7 separate regions of the Homo sapiens genome follow, and all the other regions are linked to region 4. Evidence: promoter capture Hi-C in 16 types of primary human blood cells and fetal thymus (Javierre and others, 2016). All regions are on one chromosome and are shown on one strand. The core of a region is centred on a gene start or on the middle of the fragment in contact, and the rest is flanking DNA. Distances in the headings are between cores, read along the strand shown. Region 1 overlaps TNFAIP8 (TNF alpha induced protein 8). Region 2 has its middle 25 kb from the start of HSD17B4. Region 3 has its middle 62 kb from the start of TNFAIP8. Region 4 holds the start of DTWD2 (DTW motif tRNA-uridine aminocarboxypropyltransferase 2). Region 5 has its middle 42 kb from the start of HSD17B4. Region 6 overlaps TNFAIP8 (TNF alpha induced protein 8). Region 7 overlaps HSD17B4 (hydroxysteroid 17-beta dehydrogenase 4).

Evidence for each region. The method cuts DNA at HindIII sites, captures the fragments that hold promoters and counts their contacts. A CHiCAGO score of 5 or more calls a contact.
Region 1: a fragment that was not itself captured here is called in contact with the fragment with the promoter of DTWD2 in region 4 in 14 of 17 cell types (fetal thymus, activated CD4 T cells, naive CD8 T cells and 11 more); the score reaches 17.6 in fetal thymus.
Region 2: a fragment that was not itself captured here is called in contact with the fragment with the promoter of DTWD2 in region 4 in 14 of 17 cell types (activated CD4 T cells, naive CD8 T cells, total CD4 T cells and 11 more); the score reaches 20.7 in activated CD4 T cells.
Region 3: a fragment that was not itself captured here is called in contact with the fragment with the promoter of DTWD2 in region 4 in 1 of 17 cell types (fetal thymus); the score reaches 5.6 in fetal thymus.
Region 5: a fragment that was not itself captured here is called in contact with the fragment with the promoter of DTWD2 in region 4 in 16 of 17 cell types (fetal thymus, naive CD4 T cells, naive CD8 T cells and 13 more); the score reaches 42.5 in fetal thymus.
Region 6: a contact is called between a fragment that was not itself captured here and the fragment with the promoter of DTWD2 in region 4, in 6 of 17 cell types (naive CD8 T cells, neutrophils, total CD4 T cells and 3 more). The highest score is 8.7, in naive CD8 T cells.
Region 7: a contact is called between a fragment that was not itself captured here and the fragment with the promoter of DTWD2 in region 4, in 11 of 17 cell types (activated CD4 T cells, total B cells, naive B cells and 8 more). The highest score is 16.8, in activated CD4 T cells.

The regions. Positions count from the first base shown.
Region 1 is chr5:119,366,960-119,370,735 of GRCh38, forward strand. The region is part of intron 1 of TNFAIP8 (TNF alpha induced protein 8); the gene reads left to right. Among named protein-coding and RNA genes, the nearest start is that of TNFAIP8, 13 kb to the left of the region's middle. RefSeq lists an enhancer at 702-801. The HindIII fragment of the contact is 2,657 bases long and covers 611-3,267 here.
Region 2 is chr5:119,425,257-119,429,329 of GRCh38, forward strand. No RefSeq gene overlaps it. Among named protein-coding and RNA genes, the nearest start is that of HSD17B4, 25 kb to the right of the region's middle. The HindIII fragment of the contact is 5,143 bases long and covers 1-4,073 here.
Region 3 is chr5:119,291,706-119,295,877 of GRCh38, forward strand. It overlaps a transcript of TNFAIP8 not described here. Among named protein-coding and RNA genes, the nearest start is that of TNFAIP8, 62 kb to the right of the region's middle. The HindIII fragment of the contact is 5,662 bases long and covers 1-4,172 here.
Region 4 is chr5:118,986,447-118,990,386 of GRCh38, forward strand. It overlaps DTWD2 (DTW motif tRNA-uridine aminocarboxypropyltransferase 2), which reads right to left and starts at 2,101. Exons shown (of 6, transcript NM_173666.4): 1 at 1,848-2,101. The coding sequence starts at 2,065. RefSeq lists a silencer at 1,685-2,014. The HindIII fragment of the contact is 4,492 bases long and covers 1-2,942 here.
Region 5 is chr5:119,408,910-119,412,763 of GRCh38, forward strand. No RefSeq gene overlaps it. Among named protein-coding and RNA genes, the nearest start is that of HSD17B4, 42 kb to the right of the region's middle. RefSeq lists enhancers at 1,403-1,672, 3,059-3,188 and a silencer at 3,145-3,439. The HindIII fragment of the contact is 432 bases long and covers 1,649-2,080 here.
Region 6 is chr5:119,387,509-119,391,344 of GRCh38, forward strand. All of the region lies in intron 1 of TNFAIP8 (TNF alpha induced protein 8), which reads left to right. Among named protein-coding and RNA genes, the nearest start is that of TNFAIP8, 33 kb to the left of the region's middle. RefSeq lists a silencer at 3,558-3,715. The HindIII fragment of the contact is 9,397 bases long and covers 1-3,836 here.
Region 7 is chr5:119,487,417-119,491,555 of GRCh38, forward strand. HSD17B4 (hydroxysteroid 17-beta dehydrogenase 4) reads left to right here. Exons shown (of 24, transcript NM_000414.4): 9 at 1,776-1,867. Among named protein-coding and RNA genes, the nearest start is that of HSD17B4, 37 kb to the left of the region's middle. The HindIII fragment of the contact is 613 bases long and covers 968-1,580 here.

The DNA.
Region 1 (3,776 bases), core at 689-3,188, 380 kb after region 4:
TTGATTGTAGGTCTCAGCAGTGAAACAAGCTGGCTAGTTTCAACATGTGTAAGGGTTAATCGGGTAAATTATAATTGCTGCTAGGAGAGGCAGCCTAGCTGAGCCCACCCAGCCCTCAGGGTTGCTGGGGAAAGGGTCATTCTTGCAATCCTTAATTGTTTTCCTCTTTCCCAAAGATGAGTTCTTAATGTAACATCATGGTCCATTGACCCATTAATAAAGTTTACATTCCTGATTTGTTTTAGTCCTCTGCATTTCTAGTTCTTTAAATTCTCAGATAACCCTTCCTTTAAAAATGCAATTCGGCCAAATTAAGCAAAGAAAGGAATAATTTGATTTTTTTGTTGCTGTTGTTTAGTTATTTGAGTCATTCTATGGTCTTAGGCAATTTTCTAAATGAAACGTGGAATGTCAACTGGACTATTTTGTCGTAGAGGATGGGAGGGAGAGAACTGTTATATTTGGTAGTGGTACTAGAATAGTATAGAACCTACCAGCAAAAGTGTCTCAGAGTAATATTGTCTGTTGTTTCCTTTCTATTTTTTTAAATGGCACCATCTATCCCTATCTTGTGAACTAGTTAAACATGTTTTAATTGTATATCTTTTAAAGCTTCAGTTAGCCAGATTTTTAAAAAAATGTTTGATGTTGTTTTTTATTCCATGAATGACTCAATTGACTACATGTAGGCAGCTACTAAACTTGGCAGTTTGTTGCCATTAGCATGCCCTTGGACAGGAAGTATTCAGTATAGATATGACAAACCAGTTTCCAGGCTTAAAAATAAAGCGGGGATTTCTGGACAGAATAGGTCTTTGTCACTCATTTCAACATGTCTGATGAGTGTTAAAGTTCAAAGCCTATCCCTTTGCTTTCTCATTTTTTTTCAGGCCATCACTTTACCTGACATATTCTATTATATAGATTGAAATTTATTTCATGATGCTGGTGTTTTGTTCAGTTTTTAAAAATGAAATAAGAGGATATTTGAATAGTCATGAGAATCAGCTAGAGTCAGTATTCTCTCCTTGTTATCTCTTTCATGTTTAGTTCCTTTTAAGTCATCTCCCCACTGAGGTAGGTAATGGTGAAATAATGTTTCCCTGCCTGTAAAGCAGCTTAAATTAAAAGTAGCAAGTGTGTGCCAGGTACACTACATGACTTCTCTTCTTGAATCTGTGGTCCACTTGAAATAGCATTTTTTTCCCCAAAAGTTGCTTCCCATCAGTCTTGTAGTTCTTAATTTCATTTGTCAGGTAGTCACTTAGCAACTTGGGAAGAATCATACTATTTTGACAGATACTAACAGGTTTTTTGGCATCTTGTTGCCTACAGTTATTGCTTTATGACTTAAAAAGTAAGTTCATACTTTTTTTGCTATCTCCCGAAATAATATAATTTTCCCTCCTGTCTGTTAAAAAAAAAAACCCACACTTTCTCTTCTTTCTTTCACTTACCTATTCTAAGCAGCGTGTGTGTGTGTGTGTGTGTGTGTGTGTGCGTGTGTGTGTTTGTGTTGGGGTTTAAGAAGCCTTGACACCACATTTCCTGGAAATACTAAATTAGTCACAGCATTTATTAGATGAGAGTGTCTACAACAACAAAAAACTTTCTTTTTCTGAAGACTTAACTCCATGCAAGTGTCAATCTCTGAGCGTCTATTTGTTTTTCAAATAAGAAACTGTGCCAGGGAAAGATGATTTGAAATACAAAATGCTTGCAAGTGTTTTTAGTTTGGGGTAAGGTAAAGTCAATAATGATTCTTTGGGACATTTTTCGGGACCCAACTAAATTTCATTTGCCAAACTTAGCAATAAACCATGTTTATAAAGAATGAGGTTAAGTTCTTGTTCTGGGGCAGGACATGGCTGTGACCCTGAGGTGCTTGTGCTCTGGAGCTCCTTGACTCTTCTTTCATGATGGGAGCAGGCCTGAGTAGCCCCTGCTATGCTGTACATTGAGCTTGATAAAACTCCGGCCTTTTGAAAATACTGGAATCCTCTACCCTAAATACCCTATACCTGTTCAAATAGGATGCTTTTAGGGAAAAAAAGGGAACTGTTAACATAAGCCAAACTTTCTTTTCTTTTCTTTTCTTTTTTTTTTTTTTTTGAGAGGGAATCTTGCTGTGTTACCCAGGCTGGAGTACAGTGGTGCAATCTTGGTTCACTGCAACCTCTGCCTCCCAGGTTCAAGTGATTCTCCTCCCTCAGCCTCCCAAGTAGGTGGGATTATGGGCACCCATGACCATGCCCAGCTAATTTTTGTATTTTTATTAGAGATGGGATTTCACCATGTTGGCCAGGCTGGTCTCGAACTCATGACCTCAAGTGATCCGCCTGCCTGGGCCTCCCAAAGTGCTGGGATTACAGGCATGAGCCACCGCACCTGGCCCAAACTTTCATTGAGTTAAATGAATCCCTGGTCTGAAACTGTAATTTCTTTAGCTTTGTAGTGCTCAAGACTCTTGGACCTGAAAGTGGCTGGTAAGCGTCTTCTAGTTTTTATGATGATGGGCACATTGTAGGCAAACAGAAAATGCCTGATAACCAGTGAGGTGTGAGGACAGGCATATGATTCAGAGTGTAAAATATTTTGCAGAATTAAAACTTAGGCAGTTTTTCATGAGATTCATAAATCATCCATACATTGATATTTTTTGTGCCTCTGGCCTCATTGTTTGGTTTTTAGGCATAGGACTGTGTTTTACTCAATAGGTAGTTGTATCATCCATGGTACCACAGTCTGTCAAAACCACACCAGACATTGATAATGTATTGTGCATATGGGGTGACCTTTAGGAAGGCTTGGTAGGACCTTTTTCTTGCTGGCTCCCTTCGAGCCAGTGTGAGTGATATTCCATCTCCTAGTCTGTGTTTTGGATCACTGTTCTCACGCCTAAAGTCAGAACAGACAGACCCATGGGAGGGACTTAACCAGGTTTGTCTAGGCCGATGGAGGGCTCTAATGGGGTCACTTCTTACTCTTTTGAAAAGTGGTGGAAACTGAAATGAATTGTCTTTCAAATTTGGTCCAATCACACTTTATTGTCTGAAAACTTCTGTCACATCTTGTGGCAGCAATGGAAAAGGGAATGTTTTAGGTAACCCTTGTGTTTGAAATGCCTGCTTTTCTTTTTTTTATTGTTTTTTAAATGGATTTTTGTTTATTTTGCCACAGAAGCAGCTCTCTGTTTTAATTTGTTGGAATTTAACATCTTTGGAGTTCTTCCTGGGTTCTAGCCACTGGAACACAAATCAGTCCAGAAGCTTATTACTAGTTAACTCTAATTTAAAATAAAAATCAAATTTCAGCAGAAAGATTGGAGAAGAGAAAGATATTACTTGATTGAGCAACAGAGAAACAATGCATGAATCCACACATAAAACTCTTTAAGTTGAGTAAAGGAGGCTTTCAAACCCTAATTCATGCATTTAACAACTAAAATCCCAGCTTTTCCCATGTTGAGTTTACACAGAGAAGTTAAAAGATAAATAGACTTTATCAGACTTTGACAGTAAATTAAAGACCCTTTATCTTCCTGCCTGGAAGTTCTATAAAATAATGGGTAATAAAGGCAAGCTATTAGTCAAAATGGTCTGAATTAAGCCTGGAAAGAAAATCTTGCCTCTAAGAGCAGAAGGGTGCAAAACACTGGCCCCTCCTGGGCTTGGGCCCAGAGACAAAGGAATAGTGGTTACTATGACCCAACATCAGTCTGCAGCCAGAGTTCCAAGCATCTTCTCTGCTATCCCTAATGATTTAAAAATATATAA
Region 2 (4,073 bases), core at 987-3,486, 440 kb after region 4:
GCATGCAGCAGTTTTGTGCCACAGCTGAAGAACTCTGAGGCTAGGAAACCTGGATCTTTTATAATGGCTGCAAGCAAACCTTCCCGAACTTTGCTCAAGAGGGAGATGTTATATTTATGACACTGGACAGTAAACAAACCTGTCCTTTGTTCCATAAGCAAATGCTATCTCTATTTTCCATTTCATTGTCTTATTCATTATACAAACATCCTTAAAACGATAGTCTAGGACAAAAGGGTAGTTAGTACCTCTTGTCATAAGATGAGCAGAAACATGAAAGGTCTATGGAGAATTGGCTCTCAATGGGATTCACCCTGCCTTGTGAATCCCATTGTATGTGCTTAGTATATATAATGTTTTTTTTTTTCCTACATGTCCAAATGTAATCTCTGATGTTGGAAATTGTGGCTGATTTAGGAATATTTTTGGTAAAAATAATCAACCTAAGGTTTCTTCATACCCAGAGGAAACCTGTTAATAGAACAATGTAATCTTGCTATTGGTAGGCCGCTGAGACCCTGCAAGGGATGGGGGAAGTGATAGGCACAGAATCTGTTTAAAATCATTACAAGAACTATGGCTTCAGCCACGACCTATGTAACAAGAATAATACTTTGGAAATAACTGTCTTGCTTAGGGTTCCTATTCATAAGCAAGAAAAACTGACTCTGTCTGATTTAAGTACGGAAGGATTATTAAAAGGACACAAGGTGGCCACCAGAATCTCTAGGTGGGGGGAAGAAAGCTAGATTCCGAGGCTCTGCAGTCAGGAGCTATGTCTAAATCATGCCACAGAGTTGGTATGATGAAGATACTGTTATCCTCACAGCTGGATATTAGATGACGCCACTTGCACCCCTGAGACTACCACCACTGAATCCTGCTCACTCCTGCTAGAACTGATGCCATTTCTCCTCCAACTATCCATCACCAGAATGCATTCTGTATAGTTTGTCATTCACCCCATCAATCATTATTTCTCAATTCAGTGCCTTGGGAGGAAGTACATGATTTGCAGAACTTAGGTCATGTGCTATGCCTGGCTGCAGTGGAGGCTGGGAAGAAGAGTACCCAGTATTTTCAGACTCTGAAGTAGGAAACAAGTAAGGTATTATCCAACAATGGGAAGGTAATTTAGAGACTAGGCAGCAAAAAAGAAAAAGAATGCGGTTTCATCGTAATATCTCTTCATGTTCTCCCAGCTTTCCATACACTGTTCGGACTAAGCCAAAAAGCCTAGTGTCTCCCTTAGAAGAGTGAATCTTCAGAATAGAGCTATCCATAAGGTGGGAGCAAGGAGAACAAACATGGGAGGAGTTCTAACAACCAGCAAAGATCAGTAGAATTCTTACTGTGAAAAGGATGAAGATGATTAGGAGGGTGGATAATAGGGGTGTGGTCTGCCTGGGTTCTTCAGGGAATCAACATATTTTTCTTTTTCCTGGCTCTACCTGAAGAGATAGGGCAGTGAAGAGGATAGAAACACTAGATACATTTTGACTTTGAGAAGACATTGCCTTGCAGGTGATCTTAAAGCATCACAGGTTGACTGTAGCAGAATGACAATGGCCTTATTGTTGATTTATGCCGTAAGTGAGCTGAAGATCCTATTCTTATCTCCTTTGCTTCCTGGATGGAATGGAAGAGATATATTTTTGTTCATTTAAAATTTTTATTTTTATAATGTTTTATTTGGAATAATTTTAGACTCACATAGAAGTTGTTAAAAATCGTATAGAAAGAGAGAAAGCACAGCATATTCTAGGACTACTTAAGCCCACATACTGATGAAAATATAATTCAGAGGCCAGATAGATTTGAGTTGGAGTCAAATGCAGATGGGTTGAGGACTCCTGGGACCCCTCAAATATGTGAATAAAGCACAAGTTTCATCTGCCACATACTTTCTCAGTAGCTGGGGAGTAGCTGAGGGAGAAGCAGAGGCCAGCATGGCCTTAAAGAACACCACTAACCCTGCCAAACCTTTCCTGTCAAACATGTCACCTGTTTACATATACACTATGCAGTCATAAAAAAGAATGAGGTCATGTCCTTTGCAGGAATATGAATGATTTCAGAAGCCTTTTCCCTTAAACGCCGGGCAGCATCTCATACTATCCTTGACTGGTTAGTGTAAAAACAACACTCTTCCCCTAAGAAGGTGCAGAGTCCTCCTTTCTCAGGAGTGAGGAGGTCTAGGCCTCAGCGATTTTGGAGAGTCACTGCTGCCAAAGAGTCTATTTGGGATTGTAGAGTAAGGATAGATTTTGTTATTTCTTGCAAACTGAGAAATCCTTTGAGAGTGTGTGGTATTAGGATAGTACATGTTACACTGTTAACTATTGGCAAACTTTAGTTGAAAACCTTCTAAGTTTGGGATTTTAATTCTTCTTTGCTATTACAAAACCTCGTTCAGTTCATATTAACTTAGAATTGGTATAGATCGCTCCTTCCTGTTTCTGTAAGTACTTTAAGATTTGGCTGAGTGCAAACAACTCACACATTTGAGCAGACCAGTTATTAGGCAATTTTCCTAACTCTGCTTCTGCAAGAGTTTCCTTATCACTTACCCATTGTGTCTTTTTCCCTTAATCGCCTGGGAGGAACCATCTATCATGCTGTCCTGAAGGGAGTTTCCTCCTAGATCTGGTCGGACCTTTGTATGGTAATTAATTAAGATTTACATCCCCTGTTAGGAAACCTGCTGGGTTAAGGATTTTTGATAGGAAGGCTATGGTTTTTCAGTGGCCTCAGTGCTTTCGGGCTATGCCCTTGTTTACACTGACAACAAGGTGCTATTGGAGTGTTACAGGGTTAGAGAGAAGACCTTCAGTTATCAATTATAGGTTTTAAATTTACCCTGGCTTTTAAAGGAATAGGGTACACTGTTTTTTCTTTACTACTTCTATCTCTCTCTTTCTCTCTTTGACTTCTTTGTCTGTCTCTCTCTTTCTCTCTGACTCCCTCTTTGTCTCTTCCTCTCTTTCCTTCTTTGACTTTCTGTCTCTCTGTCTCTTCCTCTCTCTCTTTGACTCCTTCTTTGTCTCTGTCTCTTCCTCTCTCTGTCTCCTTCTCTTTGTCTGTCTGTTTCTTCCTCTCTGTCTCTCTTTCTCTGTCTCTTTCTCTCTTTCCTTTCTGCTGCCTCTGCCAGCTATTTATGCTGCTGTTCTCTCCTCTCCTTTCCCTTCTGATGGCTTTGGTGGTGTAAGACTGCCACCTCCTTGGGTTTTTGCACTGCGTGCAATAACTCCATGGTTTCCTTGTGATATTTAATGGGGGTTCCCCCAGAGGTTAGGAACTCCCTTTCTTTCCATATTGCAGCATGGGCATGTAGGATTAGATAAGCATACTTGCTATCTGTATACACATTTATTCTTCTTCCCTTTCCCAGTTCTAAGGCTTGGGTAAGTGCCACTAGTTCTGCTAACTGGGCTCTGGTCCCTGGGGGAAGAGGCTTACTTTCAAGTACTGTTACTATGGCGTAACCTGTCCTTCGTATCCCATTCTCCACAAATGAACTTTCATTGCTGTATAGGTTAAGGTCAGGAATAACTAAGGGGACTTCTTGGGTGGCATAAGTCTGGACTATAATTAGTTGGCAGTCATGCTCGATTGGTTCCCCATCCTCTGGGAGAAAAGTGGCAGGGTTGAGGGTCACACACAAGCATATTTGAAGCACTGGTCCCTCAAGGAGTAGCACCTGGTATCTAAGGAGGCAGTTGTCTGATAGCCATAAACTTCCTTTGGCACCCAGTATGCCATTTACATCATGAGTAGTCCAGACAGTGAGATCCTTTCCTTGTATTATTTTGATAGCCTCTGACACTAAGATGGCCACCATCACAACTACCTGTAAACAGTGAGGCCAGCCTTTTGCTACCATATCAAGTTCCTTACTTAGGTATGCCACTGGTTGTGGGGTTGTCCCACGAGTCTGAGTAAGGACACTAAGAGCTATTCCTGCTCTCTCTGTGATGTATAAAGAAAAGTTTCATCCTGTGGGAAGGCTTAAGGCTAGAGCTAGAGTTTGTTTCTTCCAATGCCCAGTCTTCAGGGTTGATTCCCTCCTCAAG
Region 3 (4,172 bases), core at 434-2,933, 300 kb after region 4:
ATGCCCCTTAGTTTGAATGGAATAGTCATTCATTGTCCTTGTATTTTCGTTGCCCGGGTAAGTATTTCACTCAAGAGATAGTTTCAAGAAAGTTGGAGATTTCTTCTTTCAAACTAGCAAAGACATTTTTGCTTTTGTCTCTTGAAAATCTCCCTCAAACTAAAAGAATGAAAATCAGGAATGCAGACTGTATCCTTATAAACCTTGGAGACATCTGTAACCCTGACCCATACAGGACCTAAAGATAGAAAGCAGATGAAGTGATGGCAAATGCATTTGCAGAGAGGAGAAGTGAAGTCAAGAATAAAATGCCTGCAGGGCTCACCGGGAGAGGACCGGAAGCGATTGATTTGCTCACAGAATGCCAGGAAGGCTCAGAAATGAGAGTTCCCCAGTTCCCCAGAGGCATAGGTGAAGCAGAGGCTTTAGGATGGGAGTAGGGGTGGGAAAGTCTGCAGGAGGTAAAGGGGAGCCCCAGAAGGACTTGAGAAGGGAAGTTCCCTATTGCAGCTCTGGCCCAAGGAGAAGAGCCCATCTAGAATAGAGCTGAAGGAGGAGGGCTCCAGGAGGAGTGTTTCTGGGAGGAGCAGGAATGAAACTGATTAGAAAAGAAGAAAAAAAGAAGAATGGGCCGTACTGGGTTTGAATTCTTTCTCTGTCACCAATGAACTGTGAGTATGAGGAAATTAGTTAATGTCTTTGGACTTTTCATTTCCTTATTTATTAAATAAAACATTATATCATATGGTATTTTGTTATTCTGTTGGGTAAAAGACAGTACAAAACCCAGCAAGTCTACTTCCAGATGTCTACCCCAAAAAATGAAAACATGTCCATACAAATACTTATAAGCAAGTGTTAATAGAAGATTATACATAAGAGCCAAAAACTGGAAACAGCTCAAATATCCACCAATTAGTGAATGAATAATCAATGTAGCATATATATATATATATATATATATATATATATATATATATACACACACACACAATGAAATACTATTTAGCAATAAAAAAGAACAAAGTACTGTACCTGCTACAGCATGGGTGAATCTCAAAAACATTGTGCCAGGTAAGATAAACCAGATGCAAAAGGCTACATACTGTGTGGTTCTGTTCATGTGAAATGCCTGGAAAAGGCGAATCTGTAAACAGCAAGTGATTAGTGGCTGCCTGAGGCTGAAGTAAGAATGGGAATTAACTAAAAATGGCTGCTGTGGGATGATGAAATGTTCTTCTTCTTTTTTTTAAAAAAATAGTATTTATCTTTATCTGTCTGACTTTTATTTCACTTAGCATTATTCCAGGTTCATCTGTGTTGTCACCAATGGCAGGAGTCCTTTTTAATTTTGTTTTTAAATTTTACTTTAATTGACAACTAAAAACTGTATATACATGTGTGTACAACATGATTTTTGATATATATGCATGTTGTGGAATGGCTAAATCAAGCCATTTAACACATGCATTACGTCACATCCCTTTTTTTTCATATGTGGTGCCAATACTGAAAAATCTACTCTTCTAGTAGTTTTCAAATGTACAATAGATTGTTATTAACTGCTGCTACTGTGATGTACAGTAGATCCTTTTGAACTTGTTCCTCCTGTCTAATTGAAATTTTATGTCTTTTGAGCAACATCTCCCCATCCCCCAACCTTCAACCTCTAGTCACCTCCATTTTACTCATTTCTGAGTTCAGCTTTTTTACTACACATACGAGTGAGATCATGTGGTGTTTGTCTTTCTGTGCCTGGCTTATTTCACTTAATATAATGTTCTCCAGGTTCATCCATGTTGTCATAAATGACAGGATTTCTTCTTTTTTAAGGCTGAACAGTATTCCATTGTGTATGTGTACTATATTGTCACTATTTATTCCGGATGAGGAAATGTTCTAAAAATTGGATTGTGGTAATGGTTACGCAACTGTATACATTTACTAAAAATCATTTAATTGTACACTTACAATGATAAATTATATCTCAATAAGGCTATGGGGAAAAATGGTAACAAAAGAAGAGTCAAGGGGTAGAGAGGTACAAATGAAACAAGATTGGCAAAATACTGGTTATTGTTGAAGGTGGGTTACAGATGAGAGTTTATTATACTCTTTCTACTTTCATGAATGCTTGAAAATTTGAATAATAAAAAGTTTTTAAAAGGGCAGTCACATGCATGTTATTGTATGGATGTCAGATAACACTTGCAGCGCTTTACAGTGGTGGATGTTCTAGGCACTCTTGGGACATAATTTTACCTTCATTGGAACCAAATCCATAGTATATCAATTCACTTTTAACGTGTTAGCTCTTCCCAATACCTTCTTTTTTTTCTTTTTTTTAAATTTTATTATACTTTAAGTTTTAGGGTACATGTGCACAGTGTGCAGGTTAGTTACATATGTATACATGTGCCATGCTGGTGCGCTGCACCCATTAACTCGTCATTTAGCATTAGGTATATCTCCTAATGCTATCCCTCCCCCCTCCCCCCAACCCACAACAGTCCCCAGAGTGTGATGTTCCCCTTCCCGTGTCCATGTGTTCTCATTGTTCAATTCCCACCTATGAGTGAGAACATGCGGTGTTTGGTTTTTTGTCCTTGCCATAGTTTACTGAGAATGATGATTTCCAATTTCATCCATGTCCCTACAAAGAACATGAACTCATCATTTTTTATGGCTGCATAGTATTCCCTGGTGTATATGTGCCACATTTTCTTAATCCAGTCTATCATTGTTGGACATTTGGGTTGGTTCCAAGTCTTTGCTATTCTGAATAGTGCCGCAATAAACATACGTGTGCATGTGTCTTTATAGCAGCATGATTTATAGTCCTTTGGGTATATACCCAGTAATGGATGGCTGGGTCAAATGGTATTTCTAGATCTAGATCTGAGGCATCTCCACACTGACTTCCACAATGGTAGAACTAGTTTACAGTCCCACCAACAGTGGGACTCCACATCCTCTCCACATCCTCTCCAGCACCTGTTGTTTCCTGACTTTTTAATGATTGCCATTCTAACTGGTGTGAGATGGTATCTCATTGTGGTTTTGATTTGCGTTTCTCTGATGGCCAGTGATGGTGAGCATTTTTTCATGTGTCTTTTGGCTGCATAAATGTCTTCTTTTGAGAAGTGTCTGTTCATGTCCTTTGCCCACTTTTTGATGGGGTTGATTGTTTTTCTCTTGTAAATTTGTTTGAGTTCATTGTAGATTCTGGATATTAGCCCTTTGTCAGATGAGTAGGTTGCGAAAATTTTCTCCCATTCTGTAGGTTGCCTGTTCACTCTAATGGTAGTTTCTTTTGCTGTGCAGAAGCTCTTTACTTTAATTAGATCCCATTTGTCAATTTTGAATTTTGTTGCCATTGCTTTTGGTGTTTTAGACATGAAGTCCTTGCCCGTGCCTATGTCCTCAATGGTAATGCCTAGGTTTTCTTCTAGGGATTTTATGGTTTTAGGTCTAACGTTTAGTCTAACGTTAGACCTATAGGTCTAACGTTTAGTCTAACGTTAGACCTATAGGTCTAACGTTTAGTCTAACGTTAGACCTATAGGTCTAACGTTTAATCCATCTTGAATTAATTTTTGTATAAGGTGTAAGGAAGGGATCCAGTTTCAGCTTTCTACATATGGCTAGCCAGTTTTCCCAGCACCATTTATTAAATAGGGAATCCTTTCCCCATTGCTTGTTTATCTCAGGTTTGTCAAAGATCAGATAGTTGTAGATATGCGGCGTTATTTCTGAGGGCTCTGTTCTGTTCTGTTGATCTATATCTCTGTTTTGGTACCAGTACCATGCTGTTTTGGTTACTGTAGCCTTGTAGTATAGTTTGAAGTCAGGTAGCGTGATGTCTCCAGCTTTGTTCTTTTGGCTTAGGATTGACTTGGCTATGCGGGCTCTTTTTTGGTTCCATATGAACTTTAAAGTAGTTTTTTCCAATTCTGTGAAGAAAGTCATTGCTAGCTTGATGGGGATGGCATTGAATCTATAAATTACCTTGGGCAGTATGGCCATTTTCACGATGTTGATTCTTCCTACCCATGAACATGGAATGTTCTTCCATTTGTTTGTATCCTCTTTTATTTCATTTAGCAGTGGTTTGTAGTTCTCCTTGAAGAGGTCCTTCACGTCCCTTGTAAGTTGGATTCCTAGGTATTTTA
Region 4 (3,940 bases), core at 851-3,350:
AAGCTAATTTCTGGAACTCCCCTAGGCTGTGACATTTGTAGTAATGTGTTCAGAGAAATGAATACAGTTTAAGTAAATAGCCAAATAACTGTGACTCAATGATCAATCAAATCTAAGAATGCATTTTTAAAACTATTTTAACCATAAATGTAAAGAAGTTCACCCAGGGTACTAGTAGAACTCTAATAGCATAATGAAATAAAATATAAAAAGCCATCAATTCATTTATATTTTATTGACAACACCTAAATATTCTCCATAATTCTAGAATTATATTCTACCTAGTTAAAGCAAATAAAATGCATAGCAAGAGGGAGGAGAGCTTTTCACAGGTAGCAAATTTCACAAGAAATAAGCAAAGTGTAGAATTATAGTCTACCTAATTAAAGCAAATAAAATGCATAGCAAGAGGGAGGAGAGCTTTTCACAGGTAGCAAATTTCACCAGAAATAAGCAAAGTGCAGAAATGTTGGGGAAAATTGTAATCCTAAGGTATTAACTAAACGTAACTGAAAAAAAGATTAAATTCAGCAAGCCATTTTTTTAAAAAAGCATCATAAAATAAATCTCTGCTAAACAGATTTTTACCTATATATTTATAATTAACAATTCTGAACAGACTAAAAACTAAATAAAACTAGCACAGTAATTTAGCCTTTGATTTATATTTGAAACACTTTTCCTCCAGTATCCTATTGAGACCCCTCCAAACATTTTTAAATGCTTCCCCAACCCCCTCAGACGACTTGTTTAAATTAATTGTATTCACAAACCCCTATGTTCAAATTCACAGTCCCTTCTAATCACAAATTTTCCATCCTCCTCAGAGGTTTACTGAGCGTCAACTATACATAGTACATTTAGAAAATATAAAAACATTCTACATTCAAGATCCTTTCCTCTGAAGTCTTACAATCCAGCCCTAGGAAAAGGTCAAAATGTCCAAAGTGTGATACTCCAAGTATTCAAGCAGTAAAGATCTTCAACCATATTCAGTCCTTCTGTTCCCCTTCTTGGAATGCTTTTCCCCTGGCTGGATTCTTCTCATCTTTCAAATCTCAGAGATAGTTCATGACACCATTGAGCTATTTTCTACAGTAGCAACCCATTCCTTTCCTTCACTGCTTTTTTCCCAGTTTGTAATTACATATTTGATTGCTTGTTTGCTGGTTTATTATCCGTATCCAGTAAGAGAATACTCTACAAAAACATGAACTCCACTGCATTGTCAGTGATTACCAAAGCACTCAATAAACACCTGATAAATTAATGCACAGGTCTGGTGTTCCGAAGAAAGGTCTGAGCTAGACACACTGGGATATAGATGATAATTTACCATGAAAACTGATTTTATAAATTACCAGTGGGACGTATGTAGGGTTTGAAGAGAACCTAGAATGAACACCTGAAAAGGCCCTATATTTAGAGTTCTGGTAGGATAGGTAAAGGAGACTGTCTCTCTCCTCCAATCCACTTTATGCTTTTTAACTGTGATATAACTATGCCACTTAAATATGACTGTGTAACTATTTTACAAGTATTACTGTCATCACCCCTTACTTCCCCTATTGGACGCTTAAGTTTCTTGGAAACAGAACTGATGTCTGCTCATCCCATGATACGCTCAGCATATTGCAGGAAGTAAGGTTAGATAATCATGAACCTGGAAAAAGGGCTTCTTACTAGGTAGCTGTGCCTGGCATTTCCGAGATTTCCAACGTGCACCCGCCAACTCCGCCGCCCTAATCGCAGAGCTGCCCGAGCCGCCGACTCCCCGGCAGGGGGCGCCGCACCCTCCTCCGAAGGCCGCTGCCGGCTGCAGTCCCCGCCCCCAGCCCCGCGGTCACCTGCAGCGGGTGCACTCAGGCCTCCGCTCGGCCGGCTCCACCGGCAGCTCCCACAGCCCGTCCGCACTGTCGTCGTCCGCCTCTGCGCCCAGGGCAGCCGCCGCCGGCACTGCGCCGCCCTCCCGCCGCTCCTTGTCGTTCGGCGTCTGAGAGCTTGAGGCCCCAGAAGGCCGCGCAACGGGCTCCTGGAGTGTTCGTGCCTCTTTCTGCGACTCCATGGCGGACACTCCGGTCAGGCCGTGGCATTGAAGCCCGGCTGCCGCCGGGGGGCGCCACGCGCTGTAGAAACCGGCCCGCGCCGCGTAGCGCAATGCCCGCACGCCACGTACGGGGGGCGGGTCTCCGAAGCCCAGGCTGGAGGTCCCACCCTGCCGCTGGGAAGGAACGAGCCCATTGGTCCGTGCCCAGTGGGACCGTTCACCTAGAACTGGGTAGGCAAGTGTGGGCAGTGTTGGAGTGCTGGTGAGGTTAAGTAGCGTCATTGGGAGAGGTAAGGGAAACCTCCCCGAGAGGACCCCAGTACCAAGCCCGAATTTAACTCCTTTAAAAGTTAAAATAAAATGGAATTCTGCATTTTCCGCCTTGGGATGGCAGTTTAAGAATTTGCAGGATTTCCACGCGTGCATGCATCGCAGGTGCGGCAGCTGATGCACTTATTATTTAAAGGCCAACAAAGGAGAGGTTATATCCACTGGGAACTACTCACAGCTGGTCCGTTTCCTTATGTGAATTTCCTGCTCTTCTATGTCTTGTGCTAATAAGACATCAAGCATGCTATTTTACACTGGACACCAGATATTTGTTAAATTAGATTTTTAGATCGTCCCCGATCAGGAAGCAATAGGAGAGCTGGCCCGGGGTACCAATAGGTTTTATGTATGAGGAAACAAGCCCTAGAAAGGTAACGTTGCCCAGGTATTTAACAACTACTGGATACGGCGGTATATAGCACAGCAGCTGTTTTTTAAAAGCCAAAATGAAATCTATGTTAGAATGAAGGCAGAAATACTATTTACCCAAAATGGGTATCGAATTCCTTTTGTTTATTAATGCTTTGTGTTACTTCCAGCAATACACAACATTAAAACAGAATTAAGCTTGGTTTTGATCAATCATGTGAATTAAGCTTAGGAATCACAGTTGTCTTAACTCTATAGTTGTAATAGATTAAATGTGAGGCAAAGTAGACAACACAGTAATAGAGCAAATACTGTATTTCTTAAAATGTTTATTTCACATTAGATTTTTCAGTCATCTTAAAATCAAGTTTGTGAATAAAATACCGTGCTGTTTTCAACTATCCTACGTTCTTTCCCCCCGGAAACAGCACCTCTCTTTTCCTTTGGAGCGTCCTATGTGAGGGATAGAAAAAGGCTGAAACACCCACCTGGTGATGGACGTAGAGTGGGAGAAAGAACTAGCAATTATGCCATTTGGAATCGGAGGATAAACAAAATCCAGAAACTGTAGGAAAGGAGATGAATCAGAAAATTCATCTTGTCTGTAGATTTAGGTTGGGGAACCAATTCTTTAACTGCCAAAATTAAATTCTCATGTGACTTATCTTTAAACGAAAGGAAGCTGCTCATCTTTAATTTCAAGAGGTGAAATGTGCTCAAGTCCTCTAAGGTCCCTTGAGACTCCCAATTGTGTGGTGTGAGAAGACAGATGATAAGGAAAAAAAAAAAAACTTTTTATCTAAGGAATGCGAGCAGTCATGTCTCACTCTCCCTTGAGCTAAATAATTACCTCTTGAAGGCACTTGCTATGCAGGCCCTAGACTGACACCGAGTAGCCATAAAACGCCGTATACCCTATAGTTCAACAATATGTATAGCCAATCACTAACCAATGTTATTTCTGTAAATAAATGACACTTCCTGAGACATAGCTTTTGTAATGCCCCCCTCTGCTGATTCGTTCTCTTTTCTTTAAAAACTCCAGCCCATTTTGTTCTCCAGAGCACTCTCCACAGCAACCTGGAAGTACGACCTAGGCTACAGTCCTCAACGTTGGCCCAAATAAACTCTCTATATTAATTTTGCCTCTGCTCCTTCCTTTTAGGTTGATGTGAGCCTACTTACTTGGGGCTT
Region 5 (3,854 bases), core at 615-3,114, 420 kb after region 4:
AATAATGCTCTAAATTTTTCCTTTTTGGATTGAGTGATGATGGATCATATCACATCTTTGAGTCAGAATTAGAGTCAAATGTAAACTGGGAGCACCAACTCGCTAGAAAGAGGATTCTGGATTTTTGAAACATTCCTTAGATTCACAGATTTGTTTTCTAGCTCTTCTAAGGTGGTAGGCAAAGGGAAACCTAAATACTGGTTGTTTCTTAGTCTCAGTGAGGGGCCAGGTTATCCAATGGTGTTTCCCTTGCTCAGTTAAGTTGTCAGTGACAGACCTTCTCCTGATGGAAGGAAGGAGTCAGGCCAAGTTTTGCCTCTTGGTCACAAATGAAAAAAAAAAACCCAACAAAACACAAATCAAAAAGCCTAATTGAGACTAACCCTCATTTAGTACCATGTGCCTGGCAGTATGCTAAACACTCTTGTGCACTGTCTTGTCTCTGTCACAACTCCAGAAGGTGAGAACTCTTACCATCATTTTACAGAAGAGAAAACTTGGGTCAGAAAGAAAGGACTTGTTGAAGGACACCTGCTGGTAAATGGTGGCAGCTGGTTTGAATCCAGTGCCTGTTCTTGTAGCCACTGTGCACACTGACGTCCCCTTCCCTGTGCACACTCAAGTCTAGCAGGATTTGAGTCCAAAGCCCCTGCTCGTGGCCCCTGTGCTCACAGTAGTTCACTGAAAGTCTGAGCTCATCAGGAGATCTAGTTCCCAGGAGTCAGTACTCCCAGAATCACTCACAAGGCTGACAGTGGGATTTTCCAGGGGCAAGCTGCAGAGGACAGGACAGAACTGCATCACTTTGAGGAAAAGGGATGTTGTTCCTGGGAAGAATTGTTATATTTTCATTATTTCTGCTTGTTGCTCTGCAAGTTTGGGGACGATGTCTCATTAGGAAGGACAATTGCTTCTTTCTGATGAACCACTTAATAATTGATTTGATTATATGTAGTTAATATAAGAACCAGATGGGAGCAAAAGGTAATTACTTTATTGCAATGCTCAAAGAGGGAACTCAATATGTTTCAGGTAAACACCTGAAACAAATGACTTACTTCATGTAAATTTTGTATTGATAACATGCCTTGTACTACGATGAATTAAAGACAGTGCTAATAAACATCTTCTATCACCCCAGGGATTCCTGAAGTTTCCCTTATCACCTTAACAGTTATTATCTGAGATCTGTGTTGTTGTCATCAAATGTTGTCATTGTCTTGGCTTGTCTCCTTGAGATTTGTGTGTATGTGACTTGGTGACTATAGAAATTAATGAAAGATATGGGCAGAGACTGAAACAGTACTGAGCAAATGAATACTAATGATCCTTATCACAGGTCAACCAGCACATGATTGCTGAGAGTCAGGGCCACCACACTTCACAACACCAAGAGCTCCATTTGCTCTCTATTCAAATACACAAGGTTCCATAGTCACCTGGGCTGTGCTAGACTACAGAGAGGGAAGGGCTGAAAAGTGATTGAGGTGGATTTGTCTTGCTTCCTGACAGCCCAGCATCCACTTACTCTACTTAAAATAGCCTCCAACCTTCTCAGGGAGTCTACGCTTCTACTCTCAAGGCTGGGGGTTCCAGTGGAGCTGATTTCCAGCTCTAAGGGTGGCATGTGACCATGTTTGACCATCAAAGCTTCACATTCCCTTGACTGCAGTGATTGGATCAGAGATGGATAATGACAGGCCACCGGGACTTCCTCCTCTTTTGCTGAGACTTCTGAGATGAGTCTTCTTGACACAGAGACTTCTCAGCCAGAGTACAAGGCTGGCCTGCTTCTCAGAAGTCCCTGAGCTTTGGGGCCCAGGTGTAAAATGATATTGATTCAAGCAGGTCTCAAGCTGGGAAGGAACATATACCATGGCAGGAATACAAGTTTATGGTGAGCTGGAGGCACAGATTTCTCCATAATAAATAAGCATTGTGTAGGAGGGACCAGTGTTAAGAGCAGAAGGGTGTTAGGGAGGGGCATCTGGCGGGTTTGAGGAGTCTGGATCTGAACTCTGCTGGAGGATTCCAAGATGCGGAATGTGATGAGTCTCCAAAATTGCAATATGCTCCTCCAAGCTTTCAAGATCTCTGTAGTGAAGAGCCTTGGCTGCACCCTCCTTCCTGTAGCCAGCTGCATGTTTGCACACTGAAGAATTTAGCCATTGCTCTTTCTCCAGTCCTCTCTGCTTTAAGGCATCTTGGTTATTGTTTTTTCCTTCTCCCATCTTTTCTCCCACCATCAAGGTGAGACTTCACTTCATCTCTGGCAGTGTTTAAAAGAAATTTCCATTCAGCACAACTCTTTGAATCCTTTGGAGAAGAGTTTATCAAAGAAATGTAATAGGAAAATAAACTCTGTGGCAAACATTTGGCAATTTATTTTCAGTTTTTTCCCTTGTAGTTTGGCAACCTGTTCTGATGAATCCATGTGCATGAATAAGCGACAGCCAGGATTCAAGGAATTGTATTTCTATTGTCTCAGTCATAACTTATCTCCCATTGTGTTGACTCCTCCCTGTATTTTTTGCCTGACATACTGCCTGCAGCTTCTGAGTAATTCTGCTGAGGGACTAAATATCTTACTCAGCTCTATTCATCACTCCTTTGTTCAAGCTGAACTAATAGCAACAACAAAAAACAAATCCCCAAACAACCGTATGGTAATTTGGTATATAACATGCCACCATTTATGGGGCTGAGTTTTAGAACGTCCCCCCACCCCCTACCCCCCGCCCGGTGCCAAGGACTCAGGAATGATGGGGAGTGTAATTGAGGGATTTCCATTTATGTCATTCCTAGGAAAGTATGTTTCCCCAGGCTCTCAATCTGATTTTTCTCCTCTTACTGAGTGCTTACTGTAGCCTTTACAAGGGATTCATTGGTCTGTATATCATCTAATTGCTTCAGTGCCATGATAAATCAATTTAAGAAGCGATTGAAGCGTTCAACATAACAAGTCTTCCCATAAACCAGCTATTTGGGCTCTGGTGGCAAATCGGAGAGCAGAGACAGGCACCGGAGGGTGCCCTCAGCACGGAGACAGGAGCCCACTGCTGGTAGTTTGGTATTGGAAAGTGTTCCTTGGGGAAGTCAGCCAGGACAGCAGCGGGAGAAGAAGCTGCTCCGGGCTAACTTTGCCTCATCGTAACAGCGAGATCTGTAGATACTAGCTCTGCCTTTGGTCAGAAGAAAGTCTCTGAATTATTAGAAGGAAAAAGAGAGTGGGGGAAATAGAAACAACAAAAGTTCTCTATTTCCTCGGGAATGGTAGAGCCTAGCCTTGAAGACGCTAATGTTTCTGTGGCTCTTTACTCCCTCTTGTGGCCATATGGTGCCAGTGTTTTCTATCACAGACCATGTTTGCATCAATCACTCTGTTGTTTAACGTGAGAATATAATTAGTTTGGATGTAATAATCTAAGGACACAAAGCAAAGAGGGTCTATGTGCATCTGGACACACTTCTCAGAGAGTTAAAGAATTCAGTCGTAAAAAGTCGTAAATTAGCACGTAGATCCATTGTTCCTGCCAATATATAGCTTCACAAACACCTTTTTCACCAAATATTGGACTAGTACAGGGATTATACGACTTGGGAAGGAAAGAAAGCAAAAGAATTTTACTCTTTTACTTCAGCTGAGGGTAAATAATATAAAATTTCCCTACAAGAATTAAAACGTAGGATCTGAATTCATACATACATCTCAGCGATGTAATGTATGTTTGTAATATTTTTGGAATTATTTTACTTATTGCATATTGTATTCTCTGTAACATGCTCTCCTCTGCAGCACAGGCAGGAGTGGAACAAATGACAATTTAATTGAAAGGTCCCTTTTTTGAAAACTT
Region 6 (3,836 bases), core at 124-2,623, 400 kb after region 4:
AGAAAATGATTTGAGTACTTTATTAGAAAATTCTCAGTGGGAGTAGTTATGTTATGGGGCATTTTTGTTAATTTTCATAAAACTAAGTATTAATAACAAAGGACTTTTTTTTCCTTCTGAGCATATTTTTTCTTGAATATTTGGGTCAGTATATTTTAACCATATTTATCTCTAACTTTATAATTTTGATGCTAAAGCCAGAATTCCCTAAATATCACTTTGCCTTACAGCAAATGTTGCTGAAATGGCCAAGGGAGGAGATACAGAGACAGAGAGGGAGGGAGGTAAGATAAGTAATGTAAAATAACATTTACACCCTATTTCTAGAAAATAATCTTAAACAGTTTTAATGTGGTGGTAATGCTTTGTATTTTTTTTTAAATACAGCATTATTCTTCATTAATGAACAATTTACATGTCTGTTTCCAAACACAAGTGAATTGATCTTAAGAGGCAAAAAACTGAATGAATATTTTCAGCACTTTCTCCTTGGGGAACATCTCCTGTTTACATCTTAGTTGCTTCCCAGGACATGCCTTAGGTATCCCTCTGGCACATGTCTAAACATAGATCCAGCCAGAAGTAGAGGTGGGCCTGTGTTTAATCTCCTGCTACAGTTCAAGTCAGAACTACACCTTGCTTTTACTCTAAATATTTGCATTATTGTCCTTGGATGTTTTCCCATTATGCACAACAAATCTCTCCTCTTTAAAAGAACTGGTTGATGACAGTAAGAGAAATCATACTCTGGAGCGCACTTAGAGGGAAGAAAAACCACATGTTTAGTGAGGTAAAACAAATACCTGTTTTTCTACCTTTTAATACAACAAACAAAAACACCCACTAATGTATTTACAACTCTCGTTTTACAGGCCAACATGTTTTCATAGAAAAGTATTTGAGTATATTGTGGATGAGATAGGGGAAATTGATTGCTGCTTCTGGACCAGCCACTCTCTAGGCCTGCAAGTTGACACAGTGAACATGATACACAGAATCTTTGCTCTCAGAGTTTAAATCCTAGTAGGGAGAGGCAGACAATAAAAATGTAGGCAAATGAAGAGGATTTAAGGAACAAGGAGGTGTGATAGTTAGCAAAGAACTTACATGAAGCATCTTTTTTTTTCTTTTCTTTTCTTTTCTTTTCTGAGACAGGGCCTTGCTGTGTCGCCCAGGCTGGAGTACAGTGGCATGATTATAGCTCACTGCAGCTCTGTAGCCTTGAACTCCTGGGCTCGGGCAGTCCTCCCACCTCAGCCCCCTGAGCAAATAGGACTACATGCCCAGCTATTTTTTTTTTTTTTTGAGTTTTTTTTGTAGAGACAGGGTCTTGCTATGTTGCCCAGGCTGGTCTCAAAGTCCTGGGCTCAAGTGATCCTCCCACCTTATCCTCCTAAAGTGCTGGGATTACAGGTGTGAGCCACTGCGCCCGGCCCCATTTGCAAATTTCATTTCTTGAAACTCTGGCTGATATGTGAAAAGAGATAGAAAGGGGTTTGGACTAGGCTGCTGTCCGTGGAGATGGAGGGAAATGGATAGAATTCAGAGAAATGCAGGAGGAAGGTGGAATGGAAAGAACTTAATAATGGACTGGGTGAGGGAGAGAATGGTATGGTGGATGATCCCCAGGTCTCTGATTTGATTGAGCAAAAGGTTGGAAGGGATGCTATTAATTGAGATCATAAAGAGTGAAAGAGGAGCACTTAGTAGGGAGGCAGGAGAGAATCAAAGATCAGTTTTGCATATGGTAAATTTGAGATGCCTGCAAAATAGTCAAGGAAAGAAAAATCTTGAATGCACTTACAAAATGAGTCCAGAAAAGAGGTCAGGGCTGAGTTATGGCTATGGGAGTCATTGGCACATGGGTGGTATCTGAAGCTGTGGCAGTGGATGAGATCACACAGGGGTGAGGATAGACTGAAGGAGAAAAACTTGATCCAGGACTAGCTCTGAGATACACCAGACTTTTAAGGGATCTGGTAGAGCATGTGGAACTGACAAATGAGCCTGCACAGGAATGGCTAACAGCAGTTAATTTGCAAGAAAAAGAAACAAACTTCATGAGCACAGACCACACATCCCTGGCCAGCGACTCTCAGCCACAAGCCCCAGTTGGCTTCAAAAAAACTTTCTCTAATGCTGGAAAATAAATCTACTCATGCATGTCTTCTTGGTGGAGGGGGAGAAAGAGCTTCAGATGGTGGAGGGGAACAAGGAGCTTCAACCTCATTTAAAAAGACGACTTCACTGGAATAACCCAAAGAATAAAAGGAAAGTGTGACACAGCTGCTGTGTTTCTGGAGCGGGGTTTGAAGTTCCTCTAGGATAAATATGAAAGCCTCAGAGATCAACTTCTCTATCTTGATTCATACTTGATTACCAGTAAATGGGGAATGATCTTGCTTAGTTGGCAGTAGATTTGCCTGTTACACACTCTCTTGCAGGAAGTTGAAGTGCTGTATCATAGAGTTTTTGTTTTCCATGTTTGAAGTTAAATGGGATATTGAGATTTAATCAGAAAAGTAGCTGAGAAGAGGTGTAAACATGAAAGTCCAGTCTTGGATAAAGGAGAAATCTTATGAATACCTCTCCCTCTGGTTTCAATATTTCACAACATAAAGTATGTCCAACTGATAGACTTGTAGTAAATCCCAGGTAAGATATTTGTAGACTGTGCCATGTTCTAAAACATTAAAAAAAAACACAATAACATTTCAACTTTATATGTAATATATTACTGAAATCCTGGTTATCTGCTGAGTAGCTGAAAATGGTTGGGTATCCCTATATAAATCAAGTTTATTGATTTTTTTTGAGGTCTATATCAGGAGTTCTAAGATGAAATATGGTCCCTGGTTTTAATGTGATACTGTTAGCTACATGGATGCCATTTCTTTTGACATAAATTCTTTAGTGTGAATTAATCTTTATACTCTTTTGCAAATCATTGAAGAATAGGAATAGAAACAGATTTCTGCTTAAATGATAAAAACATAAAACATTAAATGATGGAAACTTCTCCATAAAGTTGGCTGTTTCTCACACATTTTCACTTTCCTTCTCTTTTTCAAAATATATTTTAGTTCTTCTGCAGTTTCAGTTCATGTTTCAGAAGTTTAAATTTCGACATTTGTGAGGGGACCCTTTCTTATTCAATCAAGACATTCTTTGAGTGGATGTATGGCACTGTATATTTATAAATGATGTTCAGGTCATAAGGAACCATTTTGCAGCTGCCTCTACTATATACCACGAACTACTTTGGTCCAAATTTCAAATCTAATTTGGTTCTTCTTTTCCTCAATTTTATTTAATTTTAATTTTTTCTGAGACAGGGTCTCACTTTGTTGCCCAGGCTGGAGTGCAGTAGTGCAATCACTGCTCACTGCAGCCTCAACTTCCCAGGCTCAGATTATTCTCCCACCTCCAACTCCCTAGTAACTGGGACTACAGGTGCATGCCACCACACCTGGCTAATTTTTTTTTTTTTTTTGTAGTTTTTTGTTGCAATGGGGTTTTGCTATGTTGCCCAGGCTGGTGTCAAACTCCTGGGCTCAAGTGATCCTCTCCCTACCTGGGCCTGCCAATGTGCTGGGATTTCAAGTGTGAGCCACCACACCCCGCCTTTCCCCAATTTTAAATCCAACATGGCAGTTCTGGATTAAGGGAGTCACTCTTCCTATATGTCTTCCCAGTCTGGATTTTGAAGCAGCTGCCTTTTTGCTTCCTAATGATGCTAGCCTATCCAAACTAGAAATAATCTTATATAATCATTGATGCCTTGACTCATTTGTATGTATCTGTATTTTTAAACTTTTTATCTTTCATTACCAAAT
Region 7 (4,139 bases), core at 24-2,523, 500 kb after region 4:
ATTTTTGATTTCATATAACTTTATATCTTAATAGCTATGGGACTTCTCTGATCTTTTATTTACTCTCTTAAGGTTGGTTTTTTATTTATAACATTGAGTTTAATAGATGCTGGCTAACCTAGGAGTTTGAGAATGAACTGGAAAGCAAGAATATTTGCTTATATTATTAGTGATAATATATAAAATAAACTGCAAGGCAGACGTATTTTTTTGTATGTGGCTTATGTTCTTTTCTTTTTTCTCACGTAAGGTAATAGATACTCTGTTGCATTTTATAGATATGTTTATTTCTCATTCAGTTTGAAGTTAGCCAACTCAAATATCCAAATCCCTGTACATAAATATCCTTTAACATTTAGTTTTGTCAATTGATGTATGGGAAATTAGAGGAATGTTATGTATTGAGATGAATGGATATTTAAGTTAATAATTTGTTTTAATGTACAATTTGAGATGGTTGGAGTCTTCCTTTTGTTTTTTCCTCGTGCATATAATGAAAAATGGAAGACAGGGTGCCATTGGAATGCTTGTGTACTTTTGAGAGCTTTTAGAGGCTATAAAGTGAAGAGTTTTTGCAACTACTTTTTAATTTACAGGACTATATACACCATCTTTTTTACTTTAACACATTAATACAAAATTGTATTTTGTCATTTCACAATTTTTGCATTTATTTGATCTTTTAGATAAAATTGTATGATTTGTAAGACACAAATTGTATCTCATTTGAGCCTTGGAACAACTTGGTGGAATAGGAAGCAGAAGCATTTAAATTACTAGCTTACTGATGAAGATACAGGCCCAGGGAAGTTGAATGATGGGCTCAGGTTCCTAAGTTGCTTGCATAGCAGGTTCAGTACCAAAATCAAAGTCTTCATGTTCTTCATGTAGTACCTTTCTGCTTCACCAAGGTACTCACAGAAAAGGTGCAGTGGTAAAGAGAAGTTGGCTAAGGGCTACGAAAGTAAGCTTAGATAGAAGGAATAAATTCTAGTATTTGATAGTACAATAGAGAAATTATAGATAACTATAATTTATTGTGTATTTCAAAATAGCTAGAAGAGAAGATTTATAATGTTCTCAACACAAAGACAAGATAAATGTTTGAGTTGATGGATATACCAGTTACCCTGATTTGGTCGTTACACATTGTATAAGGTATCAAAATATCACATGCACCTTCAAAATATGTACAACTATTATATATTAATTTTTAAAAAGTTCAAAAGGTAACATATGCAGTGGGAAATTAGTTCTTATACTTTGTGCACTCACCAGTGATGTCTTCAAGGTCTATTTCAATCATTATCTGCCTACCCTGGTGGTCTAGTGGTTAGGATTCAGCACTCTCAATCATTATTTGCCACTGTAATGGTCTAGGCTGTTTTGTGATTTTCTAGATTGTTGTTAATAGCTGGGAGAGTAGAATAATTTTGGGAATGAATGGTACCCAGATTTCTCATGTTAAATACAGTTTTGCTCACCAATCTTTGTCTAGGCAGTTCTAACTTTTCTTCTTCTGAACAGTATTAATATGTTACTCATCTTGGAAAGGTGTGTCTGATACTTACAATTTTAGAAGCTTGAGAGCCCTTTAGAAATGGCTCAGTTGAGATTACAAAAAGTTCTTCGCAAAGACTTAAATGTTAGACTAGTTATATACATACTAATTTTGTTCCTATTTTAAAGGTCTCTGAATTACCTATAATTTTATAAGTAAGAAATTCTTAGAAAGTAAAATGATTGATAAGATATGTGTATATTCTTTATTTCAGATCTTGTGGAAGCCCTGAAGCCAGAGTATGTGGCACCTCTTGTCCTTTGGCTTTGTCACGAGAGTTGTGAGGAGAATGGTGGCTTGTTTGAGGTATTTGCACCTTCCTGTTTTCTCTTATTAGTTTTCTCCAGTTGCTTACATTTGTAAAAATCTGTACCAGTGGACATCACTTGTATATTTTTAAATATTGTGTCTATGTTATAATTAAAAGTGTTGACTAATATCCATTTTTTGGAAAGTAATAGTAACTTTATAAATTCTGTTTTTACTTAGTTCTACATTTGTAACATTCCTACCAAATGAAAATGTGGCTGGTTTGATCTGTTCGGTCAAAATGTGGGGAATTTCATTATTTAAGAAGCTGAATGATAAGGTGGAAAGATGAAGCTTGGAGTTTAGAGTCAACCAGGCCAGATTTTGAATTCTTATTCTGGGAATTGCAGATTTGACCTTCGTGAGCTTTAGTTTTCTGGGGCTTTCTTGTGACAACTACAAGTCATATTTTAAACCCTTGGCATAAGGCCTAATACATAGCACTCAACCACCAATTTTAATTATCAGTATAGCAGGAATTTAATCTTGTGTGATAGGTCAATAAATATAACATTATTTATTTTTACATAAAAAATGAACTTTTCTGTTTTTTTTATTGCAGAGCTTTAAATGTTTATTATAAAAATAATTATCCACACATAATCCCATCATGCAGTGAGATCCATTGTTCACTCTTTGATGAAAGTTCTTTTAGACCTTTTAAAGCCAATTTATATATTTTTGATTACTCATTTGAGTTTGATCTCTTTTTTCTAGCCTAAACTGTTGTATATTAGACCCCCCCCCATTTTAAATTATCTGTGGTAATAATGAACCTGTTGTATACAGAACCTGTTGTAAACCTGGCTCAATTTAAAGTGAGGGATATATTAGCTTATTTCATTTGAATGAAAAGCTGATGGGTAAGTTAAGACAAAAAAAACAGTTTGCATATCTCTGAGCAGATATATGCACCTCCACTTTCCTAATCACAGCCATTGGGTGTGAATTGTGGCATAGTAGAGGTAGAAAGAACTTTACAACTCTGTTTTATAGAAGAGGAAAATTTAATAATCTCAAGCCATCTGTAATTCAGAATTTTGCCTGCTCTACTTTTACCTCATTAAGGAATTTTTAAAAACTATTTATCTTTTACAGTTATGTTTATTACTAACTTTGTGAACAAAAATAATATGTGCTGTTTGTGAAAATTTCGAATATATAAGACCATATAAAAAATAAAATAAAAATTGCCTACATTATCACTATCCAGAGAGAACTAGTATGAATATTTTTATGTTTTTCCTTCCAGTCTTTTATTAGATATGTGTTTTATTTTTTATTTTTATTTTTTTTGAGGCAGAGTCTTTCTCTGTTGCCCAGGCTGAAGTGCAGTGGCGTGATCTTGGTTCATTCACTGCAACCTCCGCCTCCCGGACTCAAGTGATTCTCCTGCCTTAGCCTCCTGAGTATCTGGGATTACAGGCACCCACCACCAAACCCAGCTAATTTTTGTATTTTTAGTAGAGATGGGTTTCACCATGTTGGTCAGGCTGGTCTGGAACTCCTGACCTCAAATAATCTGCCCGCCTTGGCCTCCCAAAGTCCTGGGATTATAGGCGTGAGCTACCGCACCTGGCCTAGATAGGCGTTTTATACACCCAAACACACAGACAATTAGGATAATGCTGCAGATGAAGTTTTGTTATGTTGCTGTTTTCTTTTACTATATTGTGAACATTTTTAGTGAGGAACATTTAGCATGCATGATTGATAAACTATACTAAGAGCTGTGCATAATATCCTGACTTAAACCTTGAAAGTAAATTGCCACTTTTTGAAGTTCTGATAGATATCTAGAGTGGCAGATACAAATATTTTTTGGCTCAGCTGGAGCAATTGTTTTTAGCACCTGAGAGGAACTTGTAGCTTATTACTTCGCTTCCAAAATACAGTAAAAAGTGGTAGTTATTTTGCCTGTTATCAAAACCACTGCTGATTTGTCTAGTGTAACTTTATCAAGGCTGACTGGTTGTATCATAAAAGGTGTAGGCATATTAATATAGAGGCAAAGGATGATGAAAAGCCACACCCTTGAACTTAGAGCCACTAAGATGTCTGCTGATACATTTCTTCTATCATATGCATATGAAATTTTTGTGGTAAGTTTGGGTACACTGTAGTTGTGGTGTTTGAAGTGACAAACAGATTTTCTTTACATCAGACTCATCAGACTTTTTTTTTTTTTTTTTTAGGATTTTTCTTGAATGACCTCTAGAAAAAATTATAGCAGTGAAAATTTATCTTTCTGGGTAGCAGTTATTATTTG